4 separate regions of the Homo sapiens genome follow, and all the other regions are linked to region 2. Evidence: promoter capture Hi-C in human tissues and cell types (Jung and others, 2019). All regions are on one chromosome and are shown on one strand. Each heading gives the region's core, a stretch centred on a gene start or on the middle of the fragment in contact. The rest is flanking DNA. Distances are from core to core; before and after follow the strand shown.

Evidence for each region. The method cuts DNA at HindIII sites, captures the fragments that hold promoters and counts their contacts. A contact is called where the count stands out against the background at its distance.
Region 1: a fragment that was not itself captured here is called in contact with the fragment with the promoter of HAO1 in region 2 in 2 of the 25 tissues and cell types used here (aorta and hippocampus).
Region 3: a fragment that was not itself captured here is called in contact with the fragment with the promoter of HAO1 in region 2 in 3 of the 25 tissues and cell types used here (H1 embryonic stem cells, dorsolateral prefrontal cortex and pancreas).
Region 4: a fragment that was not itself captured here is called in contact with the fragment with the promoter of HAO1 in region 2 in 3 of the 25 tissues and cell types used here (H1 embryonic stem cells, hippocampus and liver).

What each region holds. Positions count from the first base shown.
Region 1 is chr20:7,891,530-7,894,500 of GRCh38, reverse strand. All of the region lies in intron 5 of HAO1 (hydroxyacid oxidase 1), which reads left to right. Among named protein-coding and RNA genes, the nearest start is that of HAO1, 47 kb to the left of the region's middle. The HindIII fragment of the contact is 4,901 bases long and covers 1-2,971 here.
Region 2 is chr20:7,939,075-7,942,070 of GRCh38, reverse strand. It overlaps HAO1 (hydroxyacid oxidase 1), which reads left to right and starts at 1,613. Exons shown (of 8, transcript NM_017545.3): 1 at 1,613-1,785. The coding sequence starts at 1,649. The HindIII fragment of the contact is 11,188 bases long and covers 1-2,996 here.
Region 3 is chr20:7,971,662-7,974,853 of GRCh38, reverse strand. No RefSeq gene overlaps it. Among named protein-coding and RNA genes, the nearest start is that of HAO1, 33 kb to the right of the region's middle. The HindIII fragment of the contact is 4,514 bases long and covers 1-3,192 here.
Region 4 is chr20:7,989,286-7,992,536 of GRCh38, reverse strand. The region is part of intron 5 of TMX4 (thioredoxin related transmembrane protein 4); the gene reads left to right. Among named protein-coding and RNA genes, the nearest start is that of TMX4, 29 kb to the left of the region's middle. The HindIII fragment of the contact is 6,623 bases long and covers 1-3,251 here.

The sequences.
Region 1 (2,971 bases), core at 183-2,682, 47 kb after region 2:
AGGTCTATTTATCAGAATCTCTGGTTGGGGCTTAGGGGTGTATAGGCACTAGTATTTTTTTAAAGCTATCAGGAGATTCCAATGTGCATCTTTGGTTTTTATGCACTGGAGTAGGCAAATCAGAGTCCAAAATCTAGATGTAAAAGTGAACTAAACTGTCCTGAAAGGTGTGGGACTGAATACAACTGTATCGAAGAGCAATTAGACCCTGAAGATCCTAAAGCCAAGAAAACCGACAGAGGCACTTAGGGCAGATTTTAAGATCAGAGACTGGGGGTCCAGAAATGGATCCGAAGCCATGGAGAGGGACACATTTCCTGGGGTGGATTTTATGGATCCATGATCCAGAATGGGGGCCGGGGGCCGTTGGTGGGGTGCTATCAAGTGGTTCCCTTATGTGCTGTCCACTTGTGGGGATTTGGCCAAGCCTCTTGTAGATGGAGCAATGATGTTGCAGATATTTTTTGCTTCTGCTCTGGCCCCATGTGGACCCTCTTTGCAGTGTGATAAGCCTAAGAGTAAAATGGGAAAGAGTGAGATGTGCTCAGGGAATACTAAATAATCCATCTTGTTTGCAGTGTCTGATGCTGTAACTGCCCAACCGTTTCTCCTTGTCCACTGTATAGACAGAGCCAATTTATCAAGACGGGGAATTGCAATAGAGGAAGAGTTTAATTCACGCAGAGCCAGCTGTACTGGGAGATTGGAGTTTTATTATTACTAAAATCAGTCTCTCTGAAAAACTGGGTTTTAGGGTTTTTAAGGATAATTTGGTGGGGAAGGGGTTGGAAAGTGGCGAGTGCTGATTGGTCAGGTGGGAGATAAAAATCATAGAGAGTCGAATTGTCCTCTTGCTCTGAGTCAGTTCCTGGTTGAAGGCCACAATACCAGATGAACCAGTTTATCAGACAGTGGTGCCAACTGATCCAGGTACAGGGTCTGCAAAACATCTCAAGCATTGCTTTTCGGTTTTACAATGGTGACGTTATCCCCAGGAGCAATTTGGGGAGGTTCAGAATCTTGTAGCCTACAGCTGCATGACTCCTAAACCATAATTTCTAATCTTGTGACTAATTTGTTAGTCCTGCAAAGGCAGCCTAGTCCCCAGGCAGGAATGGGGTTTTGCTTTGGTAAAGAGCTGTTATCATCTTTGTTTCAAAATTGAAGTATGAACTAAGTTTCTCCCAAAGTTAGTCTGGCCTACACTCAGCAATGAACAAGGAAAGCTTGGCCGTTAGAATCAAGATGGAGTCAGTTAGGCGAGATCTCTTTCACTGACATATTTTTCTCAGTTATAATTTTTGCAAAGGCGGTTTCAGTGGGAGTGGGAGAGTTTTGGGAAATGCATCTGCCTGGATAGATAAGGAAGGAGATCCTTGACTATTATGAGTCATTGGGTGTGCAATAGAAGAGCCTTGGCTTAGCAGCAATGAGTCTCATAAAGTGGATTTTGTCATGACAAGAGGCAGAAAGGCCAATGAGGTAGTCTTTAAAATTACCATAGCCAAGAAAAGAGAGAAGGAGGGCCTGAACTGCAGAAGGACAGAGGGAATTGCTTTCTGCTCCCTATCTTGGTTTCTTCATCTTTTAAAATTTAAACCTTTCAACTGTAATATTTCATAATGTGATTTACACAGGCAAAGTAACTAGCATCATATAACAAAACTTTATATATCTATGCATATTTACTAAGTAATATATATATTTGTCATATATATATATTTACTATCTATCTACCTATCTATCTATCTACTAAGTAATGTGGGTGAACTTTCCAGACCACCACCTCTCTCAGAACTGGATTCTTATATAAATATTTTCCCTTTTATCGGAACCCTTCAGTGGTAGTTATTATATAGATGGTTGGAATTGGGATGACCATTTGAATTTATCCACACAACTGGAAAAAGAGTAGAACAAATACTTTAGCCAACTAGTAGTGGTCTGTTGTTTCACTGAACTAGCAGGTTGATTTAGTGACATTCATAGACCAATTGTGTGGCTGTGATGGCGGAGTAAATGATGGCAGGGAATATTGGGTGTGCATATTGCGTTGAGTTTTTCCTAAAGCACTAATGGTAGGAACCAAGTAAGTCTTTGTATATTGTAGGATTATACAGTCAAGTGGTGGCTCACGCCTGTAATCCCAGCACTTTCAGAGGCCAAGGCAAGTGGATCACTTGAGGCCAGGATTTCGAGAGCAGCCTGGCCGATGTGTGAAACCCCGTCTCTACTAAAAATGCAAAAATTAGCTGGGCATGGTGGTGCACTCCTGTAATCCCAGCTACTTGGGAGGCTGAGGCAGGAGAATTGCTTGAACCAGGGGGTTGGAGGTTGCAGTGAGCCGAGATCCATGCCCCTGCACTCAAGTCTGGGCAACAGAGTGAGACTCTGTCTCAAAAAACAAAACAAACAAACAAAAGATGAAAAGTAATGAAAACTGGAAGTTGTCAGCTCTTTGCAACTCAGTTTTGCTCCCAGAGACACACTGTTCTAGGTGATATTAAATGTTGGTTGCAGGTAAACAGACGTGGAAAGTGAAGACCTCCTCTGAGTAGGGTGGAGAGGTTGGTCACAGCACAAAGCTTTTTCTCAGATTCATGACTCACTTGTGTATGGAGATGTAGACTTAGTGGGCGGGCCAAATTGTTTTCTAAAAATTAAATATAAATCTACTGAAATCAAATCTAACTAGATTTTAAGGGAAAAATAGCCAAATGGTGTTGCTTATTTCCCTCTCGCTGAGAGAATATGGACACGTCTAGAAGGGCTTTTGAGTTTGTTCCCTGAGACCGTTTTTTAAAAAACAATAACCGAACCTAAGACTTGAAGCTATAAAAATTCTGTAAGATAACATTGAAAAAACCCTTTTAGACATTGGTTTAGGGAATGATTTCATGACCAAGAATCCAAAAGCAAATGCAATAGAAACAAAGAGAAATAGCTGGGAGTTAATTAAACTAAAGAGCTT
Region 2 (2,996 bases), core at 364-2,863:
CAGGCGTGGTGGACATGCCTGTAGTCCCAGTTACTTGGGAGGCTGAGGCAGAATAATCTCTTGAACCTGGGAGGTAGAGGCTGCAATGAGCCGAGATCACACCACTGCACTCCAGCCTGGGAGACAGAGAAAGACTCCATCTCAAAAAGAAAAAAAAAAAGAATTAATGGTAAACCTAAATGCCCATTAAGAGACAAATGGATAAGGGAAATGTATAGATATACACACAATGAAATATTATTCAGCCTTATAAGAGAAGGGAATCCTGTCATTTGCAGTAGAACCCAGAGAACATTATGCTAAGTGAAATAAGCCAGGCACAAAAGGGAAATTATTGCATTATTTCACTTATAGGTGGGATTTTGTTTTAAAAAAGACTTCAAATGCACAGAGCTAGAGAATGAAACAGTGAATACCACTAGTGGGAAGCAGGGAAGAGGAAAAGGGGTGATATAGGTCAAAGGATACAAAATAGTAGACACGTAGGATACATAAATCTACAACAGGGTCCCTAACCTTTTCGGCACCAGGGACAAGTTTTGTGGAATACAATTTTTCCATGGGCAGTGGGGGTAGGTGGATGGTTTTGGAATGAAACTGTTCCACCTCAGATCATCAGGCATTAGATTCTCATAAGGAGTGGCGCAACCTAGATCCCTCGCATGTGCAGTTCACAATAGGAGGCGGAGCTCAGTCTGTAAAGCTTGCTCACCGGCTGCTCACCTCCTGCTGTGCAGCTTGGTTCCTAACAGGCCACGGACCAGTACCAGTCCATGCTGGGGAGTTTGGGACCCCTGGTCTAGAGAGCAAACGTGCAAAATGAGGACTAAAGTTAATAAAATTGTATCATATTAGGAATTTTTGTTAAATAAGTTGATTTTAGCTGTTCTTGTCATACACACAAAAAAGTAATTACGGGTGAGATGATACATATATTATATTGGCCTCCCTACTGTAACCATTTTTCTGTGTATATGTATCTCATAATATCATGTTGTAAACCTCAAATATACAGAATGAATAAAACAATTAGCTGTCAATTTGGCCTTAATGTTCCATGTTAAAGCCAAATGTCTATGTTTGTAATCAGCTAAATTTTATATTGTGCAGAAGCCCTGAATTTCACGGATGCCCCATATTTCATGGATGCCCCGTTCAGTTCATAAGCTCTTGTTTACATGATTTGTGCATGATCCAAATGTGGAAAGAAAATGAGTGGGCAGCCTATTCTGGGTATCAAGCAAAGAGCACAGGCACAGACCATGTGCAATAAGCAGCCTTAGGCAAAACTGAACCAAGAGTGGTTTCATACAGGTATTCCTCTAAGTCTTTAATTTTTTACTTATTCCTTTCCCCTTTTTAATGTGATAGACACCTAATCACCTTCTGCTGCCTTCCCAACCTCAACTTTGGTGTTCTTTGGCAGATAGTGACTTCGGTGTTCTTTGGCAGATAGCCTACAAATGAAATTTCAAAGGCTAAGCATATAATGTTTGCTCACTTGATGTAAGCAACAGAGAACTAAATCTGAACTTTGGCAAAAGTCTATTAATAATTGACAAATAACAGAACAGTGAGGATGTAGAAAGCAATACATTAAAAAAAAAAAAACAACGAACTCCATCTGGGATAGCAATAACCTGTGAAAATGCTCCCCCGGCTAATTTGTATCAATGATTATGAACAACATGCTAAATCAGTACTTCCAAAGTCTATATATGACTATTACAGGTCTGGGGCAAATGATGAAGAAACTTTGGCTGATAATATTGCAGCATTTTCCAGGTAAGAAAATTTATTTTTTAAAATCATGTTTTAAAATTACACAAAGACCGTACCAAAATAAGATCTCCTAGTTTTACGTTGGTGGTGTGTAATTATTTGTTCAGATTTGTGCTTAGTAGAGAGGGAAAAGTTCTTGGGGCTGTAAGAAATCTTGGGCCTTTAAATTGTTAAAAAATATTCCAAGCCTGTGAATCTTGAGGAACTGACTGCAAAAGCCAAACCTATGTTACTTCACTTGGAAATATGACAACAATTAATTTAACTACATGTAAAAATAGCGATAAATTCGGATGACTTTTCTTTTTCTTAGTATGACAGTAAATGCTTATGTTCATGGTGTAGGAAACAGCATTAAATGCCAGATAACCATCTTATCCGGATGAACCAGACTGGATTGTTGGCTCAAATGTTTTCTTCCTGCTGGCTTTTCGTGTTATCATTCATTTTGATTACTGTTGTCTAAACTTTCACTTTAGATTTCAATTTGTCTATGCAGCATTAATCTTTCAACTTTGCTGTTTCATCTCTCCTTCAAAGCACTTCATCTCTCTTCCCAAATTAGTTTTCCTTTGACTTTCATATTTCAAAGCACAAGATGGTGGGTGACATGGTTTATGTTTTCTGTTTGTAATAAAAACAAGAAATAAAATCATTTCAAAGGGTTTTTTTTTATAGCAGTTACAAAAATGGTTTATTTGCTGGAGCAAGAGAGGAGTGCCTTCACTACACTACACTCAGTCTCATCCATCTAACATTATGGCTGTTAGTAAAGGCAATCGGTATTGTGGGTACTCATTGATGGTGATAAAGACAAAAAGGCAGAAAATATGCAGGGGGAGAGAATTAGCCTTCCTCCCTGATTTCTTCTTTAGTCTACAACAAAATCACTCAAAATCAGTTTTCCATATTTAAATTAGGAGAAATAAAATTATCCTGGCCAAGGTGGTCTCTGGTAGGCAGCACTGATTCACCCACAAATCCATGTAGAAGACTGAAAATGGCAATGGGGTGAAGGATACGGCCTCTCCCCAACCCTTTCAAGCCTTGACTTTGTCTCAGGTTTTGCCTGGAACCCAAATGAGCTCAACAAATGCCAGGGAAGTCATGGGAAGGGAAGTTGACTGAGAGTAGAGGGGCTTAAAATTCTGCATCATTATTTACTATTTTGGACTCATTTAAAAGTTTCTGCTCTTGGAAGATGCCCCTTCTTG
Region 3 (3,192 bases), core at 274-2,773, 33 kb before region 2:
CATAAAATTCCCAGCTACATCCTTGGTGAAATAAAAAAATCTCACTAGAACATAGACACTTCAAGAAACCTTTTCTGTCTTGGCCTGGTCTATGTGTTGAAAAATAATAGACTTCCCTAAGAAATCACAATCAATGGTCTGACCTTACACAACTTGGAGTTTGAATTTACAGTAGCTTCATAGTCTCAAAAGGACCTAAACCAAAACAATTCTCATAAAAAGGCTAATGGGGTCGGCGGGATGTGTACATGGTGGGGCGGCGGGGTGGATATACTAGCAGAAGCAAGCACAGAGCTGCTGTTGAAAACACCCTCAGTCTGGCTTAAAGATTCCCATAGATGAAGTCTCACTTAAAATAAACTTGTAATTCAAAGTTACAAATCACACAAGGAAACTGTTTATCAGATAGCAAGGTGAGACTTGCCTAAATCCTTTGGATAAAACTGTTAAATAGAAGTTTTAAATTAAAGGAAAAATAAGCATGTAACACATAACACAAAAGAATTAGGCACTTTTTTTCCCTCAAAATAGTGTATTTTAGGTTCATCCATCTTGCATGTGTCAGTAGTTCAATTCTTTTTATTAGTGTGTAGTATTTCATTGTATAAATATTCAATGTGTTGCTTATACCTTCCACTGTTGACAGACACAGAGAGAGTTTCTAGTTCTTAGCTGGTCCTTTGAATATTTTGATTGTGAGGCATTCCCTGGACTATTTTACTAAATCTTTGGGAGAAATGCCAAAATGTTAGAAATATATTCCTCAGGATTTTCCAAGATTTGTTCTTGTATCATCAGAAAGCAACATATATTACCCTAGCAAGGAGCAGATGTTTGAGAACACAAACACTAGAACGAGTCTTCCTGGGGTTGGATCCCAGGAAGACTCTGGGATCTGCCACTTGCCAGCGGTGTGAACTTGAGTAAGTTACCCAACTTCTCTGTGCCTCATATTTGCAATGGGGATAATAAAAGACTTCCACATCCACTAATGAAGGTCTAGACGATTTTAACCACCTCTCCCAATGAAGACAACTAGGAAAGCTGAATTTAAAATATATGTATAGCTACACACTTGAAGGCATCAAAGTATACAAGATGATGAAGGATATCAGGCCAAGATCTAGGAGAAATTGTAAGGTCAGGAATGTGATCCTGTTGTTTGGGGCTGTTTTTCTCCTGAGGGCATTTACTGTTCCTGGAGTAGGGGTAAGGGGTGTGTTGAGAGGCTGAGTGATGGTTATGAGGGCTTTGTCTTCTGAGGGGACAGGGATTGGCTAAGGATGGGAGGGCCTGTGAAGGACTCACATTAGGAATAAGGATGAACCATAAGTCAGCAGACCCCACAGACACTGAAACTCAGCCTTGGTCTATCCAACTTCTGAAATCAGAATGATGTAATCCTGGAAGTAAGTGTAAATGCTGGGGGAAGTTAACTGGTAGAGGTTGAGTTCCTAGGTTGGATGGTGGGTTTTCTACCTTTTTTTGCTATGAGATAGAAAGCCATAGTTTTAGTAAATCCTGAGGTTCATAAAGCTTTATCATTGTGGACTATCGCATTCAAAGGACTGTAATCTAGCTATCAAAAGTGAAAATTGACTCCTTATTTTTCTTTCATTCTTTGCCTCTTTTAGTCCCCAAAGCTATCCTCCTGCTCCACTTCCCCTCTTTTTGTTTTTATGCCTGAAATTTCTCTAGGGTGTTTCCAAAGTGCAAACACTAATTGTTCTCTTTTCCTAACCACTCTCCTCTTACCTACTACTCCTCCGTCTTTACTCCTGAGAGAAAGCTCCTTTCTCCACAGTTCCCTTCTAACAGATATCCCATCTCTGCTTATAAGATTCTTCTCACTGCATAATAAAGCCATGGAGCTCCAGGAAAGTAGTAAATACCAAAATGGCATTGCCAGAATTTTCCTTGACTGGGGAGGAGGTGGGTGGGAGGCCATGAATATCCATGTGTCAAAAAGAGCTGAGCCTATGTGTCTATTACACTTTACATCTGCTGCCCCCCAACTTCTCTAATGTATACTGGGTAGATCAAAATTCCTGTCAGGCACTTCGCAAAGAAGTTCAAGCTTAGCTTCCTCCACCAAAATTCATCATTGTCCTCTCTGCAAACATTGTAGGCAGAGAATGGGAGAACTCCCTGATGGCCAACATATTACATTTAGGATTTAATGACACTCTCCCTCCCCCTTCCCCATTTGGAGACTTTCTAGTCCTCTCCTCCAGTCCCCATTCCTCGGGTAAAGAAAGATGATTTAGTATTAAATACCCTCAGGGTGGAAACTATCACTAGATGCTCCTCTTCTCCACGATAGAAGTAAACACCAATCATGTCCAGTCCTCCCAGTTTGGCTAGGCAGACAGGGGTGACCCTCATGTGGACTCATCCATGTTGAGTTCTTAAAATCTCTCATTGCAGGAAACCTGCTTGCCCTGGAGGCAAATTGGTGCCCAGTCTCCAAGAAGAGCTCTCTGTGGGCCCATGCTTGGGATTTGGATCCTGCTTATGTTCACCCTTATAAAAAGACTAACGAAGATGGAGTGTCTTTACTATGACTTCTAGCTCCCTAAATCTGCTCAAAGCCTCCAGTGTGAGCCCCATTAGATGGTCTTGGAGGCGTTACATTTCATTCATTGTCCTCCTCAGGTTAGGTCATCTTCACCAATAATGAGAGGTCATATGACTCTTGCTTCAGGATTAAAACCCAGAAAATCATGGCTTGCTCACCCATCTGCTCCAACCAGGACATTTGCCAAGCCTCCTTCCATCACTCCTGGCAGACATTCCACCTTAGGAATTCTTTTAGCCACTTACTTCTTATGGCTACATCCTCTCAGAAACATCTATAACATGAATGGCAGCTTTTCTAGCTTTAACTTTATAAATTGCCCCTGGTGTAGGATAGTAGGTGCTGCATTTCTTATTTTTGTGTCCATACATCTTATAACATTTTAGTGCAATGCTCAAATCACAACTCAAGGTTTTTTGATTTGGCCCTTCCTTGGCCTGTTATTTTCCACAAATTTCTCAAGTTTCTGGGAGCTATTAGCCTGCTGCAACAGTTCCAAAGCCTGGTTGAAGTTGACTTCCATGGCAGCAGCCAGATGCCTTTGGAATGAATGTGCTCAGCACAGTAGGGCAGGCAGCGGATTTGACTGCTCCAAGCAGGATTGACACTGGCTG
Region 4 (3,251 bases), core at 1-2,500, 51 kb before region 2:
TCTTATGAGGCAGTTCCTGTCAGCTTCCTGCTGTTACCCTGAATCCCAGGGATCCTCGATATGTCATTCATACCACAATATGGACAAGAGTAGATGATCTCCAGTGTTCTTTCCATCACTAAATTTAAATTTTCTTTCCAATTCACTCATGATGGCGCTCACCTGCATATTTTAATTTTTATATAAACTCACAGAAGTAATTACCTCATTAGCTGTTAATATCTATCCTCACAAATAGTCTCAACATTTTACCCATCTCACAGATGGAGTCACTGAGGCCTAGGAGATGGGACAGTTAGAGGAGTTTCTCAGAGAGTTGACATCTTCAAAGGACAAAATTGATTTTGATTTTATATTATAGTAGCAATATCCAATTTCTTTAAAATTGTATGCAACTTAGTGACTAAATGAAAAATGTTAATACTCTAATGGATAGTACAAGGTGAGGTGAATATCATAAAAGCAATGTGCAGAAGATTGAACTTCAGGAAGCATCACTGCCAAGTCTGGTGGCATAGTTAGGATTAGAAGTTCTTGGGTTTTGTGTGTGGCACATGTGTGGAGAGAGACTGTCCAGTCTTCTGTCTTCCCTCTTTTCACAGTTGGCTACAGTGCTACAGAGTGGCACTATCCTTCTCTTCCAGAAACACATCATTGTTTCACACCTTATGTGTAGGCCCCTGAATCCTATTTTTTTTTTTTCCAGCCATAGACTTGTTCCTAGAACCCTTTGAGTGCCTAGTGCAGAATCTGGTACCTAGTTAATGTGCTTGATAATTGCTTTTTGTTAGTTATATGTATTAATCATTATTGTCTTCATTATTTTACTTTTTCCTTCTCTTTATAGCCAACGTGGAATACTTTAACTTTTGTTAATTTTTTTAGCCAATGCTGATAGCAGGCTTAAAATAGGGTTCCGTGGCAGTTGCTCAGCATATAGGTTGAGCATCCCCAAATCCAAAAATCCAAAATCCAAAATGCTCCATAATCTGAAACTGTTTGAGCACCAACGTGACACTTAAAGGAAGTGCTCACTGGAGCATTTTGAATTTCCGATTTTTGGATTTGTGATGTTCACCTGGTAAGTGTAATGCAAAAATCTGAAAAAATCAGAAATCTGAAGGCTGTCTGGTCCCAAGCATTTGGAATAAGGGATACTCAACCTGTATATGCTTTTGCGAACTAAGTTTAGCATTTAAATGTATTTAAAGCATTTTTTATTGGATTTGTTGAATCTCTGCTGCTCACTGATAATATAGGATGTAACTTCCCTTTCCTAAATGTTACTGTCGTTTTGAGAGGATGTAGGCATATGGCAGATTTTAGCTAAAATAAGATGTGCTACATCCTTGGGAGGACAATCTGTGTGATGGATGCTACCTTCCCTTTTTATTAGAATGACGTGACAGAAAACTTAAGGCTTTATTTAAAATATCTGATGATGAGAATTAAAAGCCATGAACATTTAGACTAGAGAAGAACAAAGTGTATTTTAAAACTTGAAAACATTCTTCTGTGATTTACATAGCATGCCTCTTCTCAATGTTTTTTTCGTATAAAAATGTTTAGAATGTTTTGTAGAATGTTATAGTGAGACAGTGGTGCACATCTGTAAGGTACCTTTCATAGATCCTACAAGAGGCTGCAAGGTTATGTTTTGTTACAAGTGCTAAGAGCTAAAGCATGAAAGAGGTGAACCCTTGGCCATCATTGAAGAGTCTTTTCTAGCTGTTTCCTTGCAGGGAAGATATTTTGGGGATTCTGATCTGTGTCTGAAAGAGATAAAGGGCTTGTTCCAGAACTCCTCAGAGAGTATATCCTATGACACAGGTGAACTCTAAATCCAAAGGCTCTCTGTCCTTCAGGGCCAGTCTAGGTTTGAATGAGACTCTGCAACACTGGGCTGGATGAGTGGGTGTGACTAAGTAGTATTTAATCCAACCTGCAGTAGTTTAGACTTCCAGAGGGAGTGCTTGCCTTTCTGGGGAGGGAAGGCTCTACCTCAGATGCATGGAGGCCTTGGCTTGGCTGTCTTCCTTAAGTCTGTCTGACCACTGATTAGAATGCTCTTCTCATTTATTCTGTTGTAATGATGTTTTAATTTCATCTTCTCACTCAAATATGTATGTAGCCAAAAGTTAGCTCTAACTTAATCATGTACTATGATAGTATAAGGTGTCACACCCATCAGATGACATTTTAGTGCATTTTCAGTGAACAGACTAAGATTTTTTTTTTTTTTGAGGCAGAGTCTCACTGTGTCACCCAGGCTGGAGTGCAGTGGGGCGATCTCAGCTCACTGCAACCTCCGCCTACCGTGTTCAAGCAATTCTCCTGCCCCAGTCTCCCAAATAGCTGGGACTACAGGCGCCTGCCACCAAGCCCCACTAATTTTTGTATTTTTGTTAGAGACAGGGTTTCACCATATTGGCCAGGCTGGTCTCGAACTCCTGACCTCGTGATTCACCCGCCTCGGCCTTCCAAAGTGCTGGGATTACAGGTGTGAGCCACCGCGCCCAGCCCGAGTAAGATACTTTCTTATTCATCTAGTACCATAGTATAAGGTATCATGCCCATCAGTTTACATTTTTGTGCATTTTCAGCGAACAGCATGGGATATTTCCTTGTGGTAAGCACATATAATATTGAATAAGGATCAGTATTTTCCACAAGTGAAAACTGTCACTTTGCCTGGTAGTTAAAGAAACAGAAACACAATGATCTAAAACTGAATTGGATTTTATTTAATAAGCTATTCCTTTGGAAACATATATAAAGCAAAACTTCAAGGACATGGTACCACTAATCCTAACACTCATAAGGGGCTTTAAAGCTGTTGTAGACTCAGACAAAGTAGACAGATAAATATTTATATCTGTAGTTGTGAAAGTACAACCTGATTAATGAATAGTTACTAATAATGACCTAAAAGACCAGAAGATGGCAGAGTTTCTCCAAGAAACTCAAATTCCGTTAAAGAGGAAATTGATACAAGAAAATTGAAGTGCAGCTTATTAAAATAAGAGGATGTTTTGAAAGTACTAAGTGTTTGAGTCAGAATGCAATGCTTCAAAAGCAAATGATTTAATGAAATTTAAAAATAATTTAGAAAGTTTCTTGAGAGTTGCATTAATCATTTATTTTGCAGAAAGGGCATGAGATACTGTATAGAAGGACTTAAAACTGCACATTATTTTTCCTAACCATATGAGTAAGATAAATCAGCAGATACTTATAAAGCAAGTTCTAAA